3 separate regions of the Homo sapiens genome follow, and regions 1 and 2 are each linked to region 3. Evidence: promoter capture Hi-C in human tissues and cell types (Jung and others, 2019). All regions are on one chromosome and are shown on one strand. Each heading gives the region's core, a stretch centred on a gene start or on the middle of the fragment in contact. The rest is flanking DNA. Distances are from core to core; before and after follow the strand shown.

Region 1 (4,145 bases), core at 1,461-3,960, 190 kb after region 3:
ATTATAGGCCGGGCATGGTGGTTCACACCTATCATCCCGGCACTTTGGGAGGCTGAGGCAGGAGGATCGCTTGAGCCCAGGATTTTGAGGCTGCAGTGAGCTACAATGGTGTCAATTCATGCCAGCCTAGGTTACAAAGTGAGTCCCTGTCTCAACACAATAAATTAATTTTAAAAAATAGCCTTGTACAAGCGTTAAATGAATCAAAAAGTAACTCTAGCAGCATCAAAGATGCATGTGAAAAAATGTGAATACAATAGTTTCTCATGAAATATGACATTAGAAATAAGAACTATTTCTAGTTACAACAGTGATTTTAATATATGTAAATGTATTTAATACATTTAAATGTATATGTGTAATTAAATTAACATAAGCATAAACTTAAAAATAAGTACTTATTGAAAAATTGAGGAAATGCAACCATTTCAAGCTTTTTTTTTTTTCCTTTGGTGACAGAGTCTCACTGTGTTGCCCAGGTTGGAGGGTCATGGTGCAGTCATAGCTCACTGCAGCCAGGAACTCCTGGGCTTAAGGGATCTTCCTGTCTCAGCCTCCCAAGTAGCTGGTTAAATTTTTTTAACAGGCATCTCAGAGGGCCCCTGTGTGCCTTGGAGGATGCTGGGGACCAAGAGATGAATGAGACACACCTCTGCCCTTTCAGAACTCTCAGATAAAGGGCAATGTGTGTTTCAATGAAAGTGTTACAAGGTGGAGGGAAAGCCCAGTCTCCCGGTCTAGGGGCAATCAGGGAAGGCTCTCTAGAGGAGGTGTCCACAGTGAGACCTAAAGAATAAGAAGGTATTTACCAAATAAAGAGGTGACAGAGAGAAGGATGTTTCCCATGAAGGGCCTAGCATGGGCCAAGGTTTTTGAGCAAAAGAGAAGAGAGTCACCTGCAAGAACTTCCCAGAATTCCCTTGAGCCCCAAGACTAAAGAGCGCTTATTGCCATTGGAGGCTATGAATGATCTGTGAGATGGCGTGTTTCACGTCTCCTCTCCCAGCATGAGAACAAGCCAGGCCGTTTCATCCATTAGGCACTACAGGCAAAATGCTTGGGACCCAGGGGCTTTCTAATGGCCTATGCTGAAGTTTGCAACCTGATCAACTAAAAAATGTGATTGGTTCCACAACGCTGCAAAGAAAACAGCAAAATCGAAATGAACAAACGTCGATCAACAAAACTAGCCAACTGGTCGACTCAACTCCACTTGACTTTTCTGGAGCTACATATAAATTACATGTCACGTGGGTGCCTCAGTCTAGGCTAGAGATGGTGCATTGTGGGGTCTCCAAAAGAAAGATGCCTTCAAAAGCACTAAAAGAGACCTAAAGGCAGAGAAACAACGCCTGTTTTGCCATCAGGGCATTTGTTCGGCCTCGAAGGCTGAGGTGGGAGGATCACTTGAGCCAGGAGCTCAAGGCTGCAGTGAGTTTTGGTTTTGGGTGTTTTTGTTTGTTTGTTTGTTTGTTTTGTTTTTTGAGACAGAGTCTCCCTCCATCACCCAGGCTGGAGTGCAGTGGCACAATCTTGGCTCGCTGCAGCCTCTGCCTCCTGGGTTCAAGCGATTCTCCTGCCTCAGCCTCCCTAGTAACTGGGATTACAGGCACCCGGCACCACACCTGGCTAATTTTTGTATTTTTAGAGATGGGGTTTCACCATGTTGGCCAGGCTGGCTGGCCTTGAACTCCTGACCTCAGGTGATCCACTCACCTCGGCCTCCAAAGTGCTGGGATTATAGGCGTGAGCCACCACACCCAGTCCTGAGTTTGGTTTTCTATTACCTGCAGTTACATGCATCCTCACTGAGATACTACTCCATAAATGTTGAATGAGTGTAACTGCATGAGCTGTGCTACAGCACAGAGTGCTAGCAGGAAGTGCTGGGCTAGGAGCCTGAAGTTGTCAGCAGGGGTCAGACCACACAGGGCCTCAAAAGCCAGGCTGGAGCTTTGGGTCTCTGTCCTAGAGGTGACAGGAAGCTAGGAAGTGTTATGAGCAAGGGACAGCCAGGATCACTGCAGGAAGTCAGAGAGACCTCTCTGGAGCCATGGAGGGATAGGTAGGAGGAGAGAAACTGGGGACCAGGGAGGAGGTGAGGAGAGGGTCCACATGGAAGAGGATGAGACCTGGGACAGGGCTGCGGGGACAGAGAGGAAGGAATGGGGAAGGGAGAGTCAGAGGGCAGGAAGATAGGGCCTGATGGGCTGTGGGAGGGAATTGTGGGAGGTGGAAGGATGGCACCAGTGACTGGGTTGGCGGTGGGGCCATTTGAAAATGGAAACCAGGAAGGAGGAGAGCAGCTTTGGGGGAAGATGCTGAGCTCAGGGTGGGAGACAAGACAGTGAGGTTACCTAGGAGAAGAATGGCCTCAGAGGTGTTGCTTAGGCCCCAGAGGCTCATGGGAAATGTAGTTCTGAGTCCAGGGCATTGGCCAAGGAACTGCAGAGGCTCATGGGAAATGTAGTTTGAGGTCCAAGGGGGCCGCTCTCCAGGAATCTGGTGAATCCAGGAATGCTAGGGATGGCTTTCACTTTGGAGTGCCAGTGACTCGCTTAAGGCCACACTGTGAGCCCGGGCTACTACGCACTGCCTGGATGGAGGAAGTCCACCCCTTCCCCCAAAGACACAGCTCAGTACCTGCCTTCCTGTGCATGGTGGGGCTGCCCATGGCAGGGAAGCACACGGGCTCCACCTCTGGCTGCATCCTGGGAAGGTGGGTGAGGGATGTCTCAGGAAGGTGGCAAGAGAGGCTCTGCCTGGGCCACCCACCCCAGCTCCTTCTCCCCACCGCTGCCTCCTCTACCTCCTCTTTGAAGCCCCGGGGTAGAATTACAGAGGAACTGGAAGGCTGAGACCATGTGGAGATCTGGGTTCCCCTGACCTCAGGGACTCCCTGTGTGCCCCAATCCCTTCTTTCCCATTTCCCTGTTTTTCCTCCTATCTCTCTCTGTCTCCTAGAGTCCCTTTCCCCACCCCTCTCTCTCCACCTCCCTTCCTCATTCTCTCCCCATCTCTCTGCCCCCCTGCCTCCTCCCCTCTGTCCCCACGTCTCCACCACTCTTTTGCTTGATTTCTCTGCCCTCCTCCTCCCTCCTTCTCTCCTGGGCTCCATCTCTTCAGTCTCCATCAGTTTCCCCAGCATCTCCCCAGGCCCCCGTCCCTCCTTGTCTTCATCGTTTTCTGCCTCTCCCTAACCCCGTCACCCTCTCTCTGTCTTCCCACCTCTCACCAGTCTCCTTGCCCCATCTCTATCCTCTCCTAGCTGCCTCCACTGCCCCCTTGAGGCCCCCTCCCCTCTGTCATCCCCTTTCTGTTCCCACTTGCCCTCTGCTCATCCCTGCCCCAGCCAGGAACTGGTTAGAAACAGGCGAGATTCCAACGAAAGTGGGTTCTCTAGTGGGGAGGGGATGGTGGGCAGGGGGCCTGGTTGCCATGGTGCCTCCAGAGGGAGGGGGAGGGGTGGGGGCCTGGATTCCTGGGTCTGAGGGAGGAGGGCCTGGGGTCTGGACTCCTGGGTCTGAGGGAGGAGAGGATGGGGGCCTGGACTTCTGGGTCTGGGGTCTCACGGGGCCTCTCGTGCTAGAGAGAAGGGGTCTAGCCGTGTAGGTGCCTGTTCAGCATCCCTTTCTCTGGGTCTGCAGAGCTCTCTGCAGGAATTGTGGGAGAGGAAGCTGGACCTTCGCTTATTTGTTTTGTCTGTCCTTGCAGTCTTTGTCTCTGTTACTTGTATCTCTTTCTCTTCCTCTTTCTCCACATCCAGATGGTCTCTGGACTGTCTGTTGTTCCTGCTTACTAAGTATTCGTTCTAGGTGGTGGCACCTTGATTTCCTCAGTGATTTGTTCAGTGGCGAGCTTAAGAATCAATCTAGGCTACAAAGTCAACCTTTGGACTTTTGCTGGACCTGTTAGAAAACAGGGTTTTTCCCCTGTGGTTTTGGGGCTGGTCAGAGCCAGGGTTGGAGCTCTCGGTGCTACCACATCACCATGCAGGGAGATAACTTGCCTGAGAGCAAAGACAACACGAGGGAAGCATAGCCCAAAGATACAGACAGTTGGATTCCTGGAGATGATTGGAACACCTGGATCCAGCAATGCCTGAAGCCCTCATCCAATCAATAAACTTCCTTTTATGCTTAGGT
Region 2 (4,213 bases), core at 1,519-4,018, 220 kb before region 3:
AACCACCCTCACTCCAGGCTCCAGCTTTTCCCAAGTGAGAAAGGCTTCTCTGGAAGCATGGACCCAGGTCACAGGAGGGTACAAGTACCCCGATTTCCCACATAAGCTGGTTGCCGCACTTAACCTGGCATCCTACCTCCAGCCACACCACCTGAACACAATTCCACTCAAAAAGTGAACTCAGACCCCGCCCTGTGAGGTGGGAGAAGTCCAGGGTGGAGAAAGACAGTGACCTTTCTTTCACCTTGAGAGGTGGGGTATGACCCAGCTCACCCCCACCAAAACCTACTGCATCATAGACACTCAACCTCATGGCCAGTCCTCATCACCCATGTCAACCCACTACCCCAGCTCAACCACATCTTAACATTTCCCCATCCAAAACCTCAATCTTGGTTCCATCTTCAGCCCCAACCCAACAGTACCCCAACACCAACTTATCCCTAGATACCTCCCATCTTACAATCTAATCCTATCCCAAAACCAGCTCAACTACCACCTCCAACTCTATACCCATCCTCATCCAATTTTCATTCACCTCCCCAAACTCATTGCATTCCTAATGTTGTCATCAGGCCCATCCTTAACCATAGACTCTACTGATTTCCTATATTAAGCCATATTTTTCTTCTTAGCAAAATACTTTGAAATGGACCCAACATTGGACACTGAGGTGTCGCCAATGCAAAGTTAGATGGGTTATCTGATTTTATGAGGTCTCTGTACCCTTTCCTGTCTTTGAGCCACTTTATGACTCTAAATTGTAGGTATCTGAGAGCAATGCAAATAATTCTTGTCCATAAATGTTTACATGAATTTTGCCAGGTGGAAGTACAATGGATTTCCCTCCTCCTCCCAGTGTGGAATAGCCAGTTTTGCATCTATTTGTAAATTCATTTCAGCATTCCTCGTTGTCTCTGTGCATATGGCTCTTTGTAACATCTTACTGGCTCTGCCATTTATTAATGAGTCAAGATACAATCTTTGACACATGTTCATTTCATATATGTCAGAGAGTCATGGTAAGACCATGTTTTAAAAGTTACCCTTTGACACTAGATTTGATCTCCACATCCAAATCTGAACTCCATCAATAAGGACTGTACAAGTTTCCATGTGAGCCCTCGCCCCATCCATCTCTATTCTTTATCCTCATTGTGACACCTCCACTCTCTCACTCTTTCCAAACTTCATCTGGTCCACGTCCCTGGCTTTCTTCCAAATTCTGACCCCACCTCAGTCCTTAATCCCTAATCCTGTCCCCTCCACCCCCTAGGATTAACTCAGGGCTCCACCCAGTCATAGTTCCTGGAGACACCTACTCATTCTCAAAACACCACCCCTTCCTCCTTCCTCTCCCCCACCCCCAATCCACGTCTTCAAAGCTTTCCGGCTCCTGCTTTTTCCTCTCCACCTAGGTCCCCGTGGACTCCCTCACCCCCTCTGGCCCTGCTCCTAAAAGGCCATTTCTGGAAAATGTTGCTTTCTCAGGTCGCATCTCTGCCCCCATCCAAGTCCGAGGGAGCTGATTTTCTATCCACCCAGCTGATGATTTCCTTCTTGTGTCCGGTGGTTGGCGGGAGCAGGGAGGCAGGATGATGGGATAATTGTGGGTGTCCTTGTGTCTTTCAAAAGAAAAAGGGTTGAGATGAGACTGGGAATTGGAACCTGGATGTGTTGAGAGCTAAACCTGAGATGAGGTTGGAGATGGGACTGGGGTTGAGGAACAGGCTGGAGTACTTGGTATGGTTAGGGATGGATAGGGAGGTGGGAATCTGATAGAACACGGCCATCTGGGGGCTGACTGCCTATTAAGAATTATGCATGGGGTTGGAGAAGAGGTTAGAAAACTGGGTGCAGAATGGGTTGAAGTTAGGGATGGGCATGGAACTCAGCGGGGTAGGGGGAAGGAAATGGGCTTTCCCCTTACCCTTTTTTGGGTCCTGAGGCCTGAAAGTTCACAGTGGGTTCAACTCTGCCTTGGGCGGGGTCAGACCTAGGTCCCAGCACGTCCTGGAAGCTCCGCCCCAAGCAGAGGGCCAAGCCCAGGTCGGGGGTGCCTGGAGACATCCCGCTGAGCCACTGGGGGTGGAGAGGGGGAGGCCAGGGACCAGGAAATGCTGAGTGAGCTGGGGGAGGGAGTTCAGGGGTTAAAAGCCATGGTTCGGGGCTGAAGTTCTAGACAGCTGGCGGCTGACGCTCCTCGTGGGCCCCTCACTCAGGTAGGGTCTGCCTGGGGCGGGGGCGGGGAGCGGAGGAGGGCAGGGAGGGGAGAGAAGAGGGGATAGGAAGGATGGGGAAAGCAGAAGGGCAGCTGAGTCAGGGAGAGGGAGAGTGAAGCTAGAGTCTCAGATCTAGAGAGAAACCTGCAGAGACGGAGAGAGGCGAAGGGCGCGGACAGATAAGAACTTGGGCTAATACCAAGCGTGTGGACAGACCCAGAGGGGTAGAATGGAAGGCAGACTCTGGAGGAAAAGGGCGAGAGTGCACCGACCACCCAGCTCGCCAGAGGGCAGGGGAGGAGGGACGGCTTCCTGGGGTGAGGGGCTGCACGCCGGAGCCCCAGGAGGTTGCACACTGTTCCTCCCACCTCGCCACTGCACCCCCACCAAGGATGGAATTGGAGGCGGGGGGCAGATTCCAGGGTCAGGGCTGTCAAGAGTGAATGAGGCGAGGAGACATTCAGGAGCAGAGAGGTTTCAGACGCGGAGGTTCCGGGCACGCCCTCAACACCCCCTTCACCTTCTCCTCAGGCCCCGCCCGCCCTGCCCTCCCCTCCCGATCCCGGAGCCATGTGGCCCCTGGCCCTAGTGATCGCCTCCCTGACCTTGGCCTTGTCAGGAGGTAAGAATGCGCGGGGGTGGAGGCGCGGCGGCCATTCGGGACAATGGTAGGAGGGGTCAGGCCGGAGGGGGAGGGGGCGTGGGAGCCGCGAGCTCCGCCCCCCGCCCACTCGGGGCCGGGTCCAGTGGGGACAGCTCAGAGCTCTTCCTGCTTGTCCCTGGGTGACCTGGTTTCCCGGCTGAGGTTGGCCCTCCGACCCCAGACCCTTCACCTCCCAAAATACCCTCGCAGCAGCCCCTCCCGCGTTCAAGGCTTCCTGTCCTCTCTGGAAAGCTGAAAGACATGGGTTCGCGTCCTGACGCTGCCGCTTTGAGCCAGTAGCCTAGCAGCTGCTTTGTGCCTAAATTGTTTTCATCTGGAAAATGGGCTTAATCTATAAGTGCTTACCAGAGAAGGTCACTGTGAATATTGAAACGAGGTAATGCGTCGAGCCTTCAGTATGTCGCAGGTAGAAGGGACTTGAAAGTTAGCCACTTAGCCGTTATTACTTTATTAGTAGTATTCCTTTTTTTTTTTTTTTTTTTTTTTGAGATGGAACCTTGCTCTGTCTCCCAGGCTGGAAGGCAGTGGCACGATCTTGGCTTACTGAAACCTCCGCCTCCCGGGTTGAAGCGATTCTCCTGCCTCAGCCTCCCGAGTAGCTGGGATTACAGGCGCCCGCCACCACGCCCAACTAATTTTTGTATTTTCAGCAGAGACGGGGTTTCGCCATGTTGGTTAGGCTGGTCTCGAACTTCTAACTTCAAGTAGCCCGCGTCAGCCTCCCAAAGTGCCAGGATTACAGGCATGAGCCACCGAGCCCGGCCTCTAGTATTCTGTCTTCATACTCAGCCCCTTCCAGAACCTTCTAGATTGTTATTTTAATCCTTGGGTTGACCCCAAACCTATGTGACCTCACCCCAAATTGGTAGTCCTTAAGATCCTTATGGATCTTTCCCATCTTTCCCTGCCGTTGTAGGCAGGTTCTCTGGAAACCCCGTTCATGAATCATTTATTCATTCAACAAACAGCTATTAAACACCGGCCACTGTGCTGGGTGCTGTACAAGCAGAGACACAGTCCCTGCTCTCAGCACCTGGAGTCTAGCGGGGACAGACGCAGATGTTATTCAAACAATTATCCAAATAATTAGTTAATAATTATCTTGACATGAGGTGAAGACTTCAAGGAGCCAAGCCAGGGGCCTAGAGATGTAATGGCGGCTTCCCGACCAGAGGCCTTCCCAAAGGGCTTGACCCTTGAGCCAAGACCTGAAAAAGGAGGGATCTGTGGGTGCCTGGCACCTGGCACCATCCTTGGCCTGAAGGTGGGGTGGCTTTTCTCCTCTGGCGACACTCCCTGGATTCATGCCCGTGCCACTCCTGAGTGC
Region 3 (4,172 bases), core at 178-2,677:
CAAAGCATATGAACAGGCAATTAATAAAAAAGAAAAGTCAAGTGGGGGGAGGGATAGCATTAGGAGATATAACTAATGTAAATGACGAGTTAATGGGTGCAGCACACCAACATGGCACATGTATACATATGTAACAAACCTGCACGTTGTGCACATGTACCCTAGAACTTAAAGTATAATTAAAAAAAACAAACATATATATATATATATATATATATATATATATATATATATATATATATATAAAGAAAAGTCAAAAAGCTAATGTGGGGAGAAAATGGTGGCTAGGAAGCAGGACTAACTTGCAGCTCCCACTCAGATGGACAGAGCAGCATGTGGAGACTCACGTCTTGAATTTTTGCTCCAAGAACTACTGCAGGAACATACCAGGAAAGCCAAGAGAACCCACAGACCCTTTGAAGGAAGCACATTGCTGCTGCAGGCTCCAGGAGACAGCTGAAAAACTGTGAGTGCTCAAAGTGTGAAAAGTGTGAAGGGGGGATCATCCGCCCCTGCACACACATCCTCACTGGGGAATCTGAAGGTCCAGATCATGGGAGAAGGATTTGACCTTACCTGGAGCCGAGATGAACTTAGAGAGCTGAATGAAATACGGGGGGTAGAGAAAGCAGCAGGAAGAGCCCTGAGGGTACTGTTGGTCCCCAGGGAAGCCATTTCTGACTTCATCTCACAGGGGTCCTTGGGGAGGGCTGCCAACGGAATTGGGGAAAGACTACAGGGAGAAGGAAGCTTCCAGCTGAACTTTGCAACAATTTCAACTGAACACGAAGTTTCCTGGACAGAACTCAGGGGAGGGGGTGAACTGTGAGTGCAGACATGAGCACAGAAGCTGCAGCAGGTGGGGAGGCACGAAACCTGAAAGCCCTGCTTGCTTTCTCAGCAGGGAGGCTTGTAGCCTGGGGCGAGTTCCCAGCCCTGCGCACCTGCTGCCTGCAAACAAACTGTGCATTGATTGGGGATGCACACAGTGGGAATGAGACCAGCTTTTTGGGCTGCATGGGAGCTGGGTGAGCCCTGAAACTGCTGGCTTTCTCCCACTTCCCTGGTGACCCACATGATGCAGTAGAGGCAGCCATAATTCCCCTGGGAACATAACCTCATTGGCCTGAGAACCACACCCCACCCCCACACAGCAGCCACAGCGACCCTTACCCAAGGAGAGTCTGAACTCAGACACCCCTAACCCTGCCCCCACCTGATGGTGTTCCTCTACCTGCCCTAGTAGCCAAAGACGAAGGACATACTCTCTTGGAAGCTATCTGGCCCCATCCTCCACCTGAGAAACCTGAATACTTATCCAGGTAACCCTAGGGCAAGCTGTTTTCCTCCCTGTACTACTGCAGCTGATGCTGTCTTGAAAGTGCCGTCTCCTGGCTGGAGGCCAACCAACACAAAACCAGCGCACTAAAAAATAATACAACCAAGGAACCCCAGCGAGTCTACTTTACTCCTCTGTTACCTCCAACGGAGCAGGTGCTGATATCCACAGCTAAGAGACCTGAAGATGAATCACATCACAGGACTCTTTGCAGACACCCCCCAGTACCAGCCCAGAGCGCAGACGCTCCACTGGGTAGCTAAATCCAGAATCTGAGCAGCCCTTGAGACCCAGATCTTCCTTCTGACATAGTCTACAAAGGAGAAGGAACCAGAAAACCAATTCTGGTAATACGACAAAACAAGGTTATTTAACACGCCAAAAAGATCACACCAGCTCACCAACAATGGATCCAAACCAAAAAGAAATCTCTGAAATTGCCAGAAAAAAAAAAAATCAGAAGATCAATTACTAAGCTACTCAAGAAGGCACCAGAGAAAGGTGAATACCAACTTAAAGAAATTTTAAAAAGTGTTACCGGATATGGACAGAAAAATCTCCAGAGAAATAGCGTAAATCAAAAACAATTACAATTTCTGGAAATGAAGGACACACTTAGAGAAATGCAAAATACACTGGAAAGTCTCAGCAATAGAATCAAACAAGTAGAAGAAAGAACTTAAGAGCCCAAAGACAAGACTTTTGGATTAACCCAATCCAACAAAGACAAAGAAAAAAGTATTTTTAAAAAATGAACAAGACCTCCAAGAAGTTTGGGATTATGTTAAACAACCAACCTAAGAATAATTCATGTTCCCAAGGAAGAAGATAAATCTAAAAGTTTGGAAAACATATTTGAGGGGAATAATCTTCCTTGGCCTTGCTAGAGATCTAGATATCCAAACATGAGAAGCTCAAAGAACGCCTGGGAAATTCATTGCAAAAAGATGACCACTGGTCGGGCGTAGTCGTTCACGCCTGTAATCCCAGAACTTTAAGAGACTTAGGCAGGCCAATCACAAGGTCAGGAGATCGAGGCCATCCTGGCTAACACAGTGAAACCCCTTCTCTACTAAAAATATAAAAAAGTAGCCGGGTGTGGTGGCACGCACCTGTAATCCCAGCTACTCGGGAGGCTGAGGCGGAAGAGTCTCTTGAACCCGGGAGGCGGACGTTGCAGTGAGCCGAAATCGCACCACTGCACTCCAGCCTGGGCAACAGAGTGAGACTCCATCTCAAAACAAAACAAAACAAAAAAAAGATGACCCCCCTAGGCACATAGTCATCAGGTTATCTAAAGTCAAGATGAAGGAGCATCAGGTAACCTATAAAGGAAAACCTATTAGATTGACAGCAGATTTCTCAGCAAAAACCCTACAACCTAGAAGGGATTGTGGTCCTGTCTTTAGCCTCCTTATACAAAACAATTATCAGCCAAGAATTTTGTATCCAGTGAAACTATTGGCAGAACACACAACAACTCCGGGTCAGAGACAAAGGACTTTATTACTCATGGCACAGCCGGCAGCATGAGATTCATGTTCACATGGGCTCACCTTGCCCCCCAGGTCCTACAGGGATGATCAGAGTGGCTCAGGCAGATGCTGCGCACACAGTGGTTTGCGTCAATGCTGGGGAACCTCTGTTTACATGTATTTACAAATCTTCAATCTTATAAGGGAGATGCAAGGAAATCTGCTTGACTTTGAAACTCGGAGAGATATTATCTTTGTTATGTCGGACTGCTGATCCACCTGCCCCGGAAGGACATGTTGTATTTACTATCCTAGCCAATAAATAAATCATTATGGAAGGACATTATCTTTATTATCTAAGACAGTGAACAAACATGCTCTGATGCTCTAGAGAAACATCCATAAAAAGACAATCTGGAACTCAAAAGTGGCTAATACCTTTTTCAGGAGACAGGCAGAAAGGTAAGAGAGCCATGGATAATTGTCTCCTAACACCATTCAGTTCATGCTCTCGATGCTTCCCTACAGGATAATCTCAGGCTTCCCAACCAGGCATTCAAAGTGCAGGCATTTGGTCTGGGATACAAAACCCAGCCTCAGTTTACCTGGTTTTTTTGTTTGCTTGTTTGTTTGTTTTTGAGACAGAGTCTCACTCTGTCACCCAGGCTGGAGTACAGTGGTGCGATCTCGGCTCACTGCAACCTCCACCCCACCATGGGTTCAAGCGATTCTCCTGCCTCAGCCTCTTGAGTAGCTGGGATTACAGACACACACCACCACACCTGGCTAATTTTTGTATTTTTAGTAGAGACAATGTTGGCTAGGCTGGTCTCAAACTCCTGACCTCAAATGATCCGCCCGCCTCAGCCTCCCAAAGTGCTGGGATTACCGGCGTGAGCCACCACGCCTGACTTGATCCTGTCTTTCTCATGCTATCTTCTCACTCCCCGTTTCTCACGGTTTTCTGCCTTCACCATTCCCTCCCTCTTTTGATGCCTCTTCCTCACTCCAGTCCTTACTTTATCTCTTCTACACTCCCCGACTCCACCCTCCTTTGTTTTTGCCCGGTCCCTATTTCTGCAGGCTTCTCTTTCCAGCTCCCCGTGTCTCCTTCTCTAGACAGGAAGCACCCATCTAAAAAGGTGAATGCTCCTGCAGTGAACAATCATCTCCAGGCCCACCTGGCCAAGGCTAGAGCATCCCCCAGCCCTCCTGACCTGCGTCCTGAGGTGTGGAGTCAGGTGCAGGGGAGAAAGGAAGCTTCAGTGACAGGTATAGCCCAGTGGTTCCCCAATGGGGCAAAGTTGTCCCCTCCACCCGCCCCACCCTCCTCCACCCATCCAGGGGCACACTGGCAT

Evidence for each region. Contacts are between HindIII fragments. The study calls those that stand out against the background at their distance.
Region 1: the fragment with the promoter of C19orf81 here is called in contact with a fragment that was not itself captured in region 3 in 3 of the 25 tissues and cell types used here (dorsolateral prefrontal cortex, pancreas and spleen).
Region 2: the fragment with the promoter of KLK13 here is called in contact with a fragment that was not itself captured in region 3 in 4 of the 25 tissues and cell types used here (H1 embryonic stem cells, dorsolateral prefrontal cortex, pancreas and 1 more).

Annotation. Positions count from the first base shown.
Region 1 is chr19:50,648,010-50,652,154 of GRCh38, reverse strand. It overlaps C19orf81 (chromosome 19 open reading frame 81), which reads right to left and starts at 2,710. Exons shown (of 5, transcript NM_001195076.2): 1 at 2,644-2,710. The coding sequence starts at 2,710. It also overlaps a transcript of SYT3 not described here. RefSeq lists an enhancer at 3,777-3,826. The HindIII fragment of the contact is 25,500 bases long and covers 1-4,145 here.
Region 2 is chr19:51,063,647-51,067,859 of GRCh38, reverse strand. KLK13 (kallikrein related peptidase 13) reads left to right here and starts at 2,768. Exons shown (of 5, transcript NM_015596.3): 1 at 2,768-2,844. The coding sequence starts at 2,793. The HindIII fragment of the contact is 7,460 bases long and covers 448-4,213 here.
Region 3 is chr19:50,841,216-50,845,387 of GRCh38, reverse strand. The region is part of intron 2 of LOC105372441 (a long non-coding RNA gene); the gene reads right to left. Among named protein-coding and RNA genes, the nearest start is that of KLK15, 9.7 kb to the right of the region's middle. RefSeq lists enhancers at 451-972, 973-1,495. The HindIII fragment of the contact is 7,245 bases long and covers 1-4,172 here.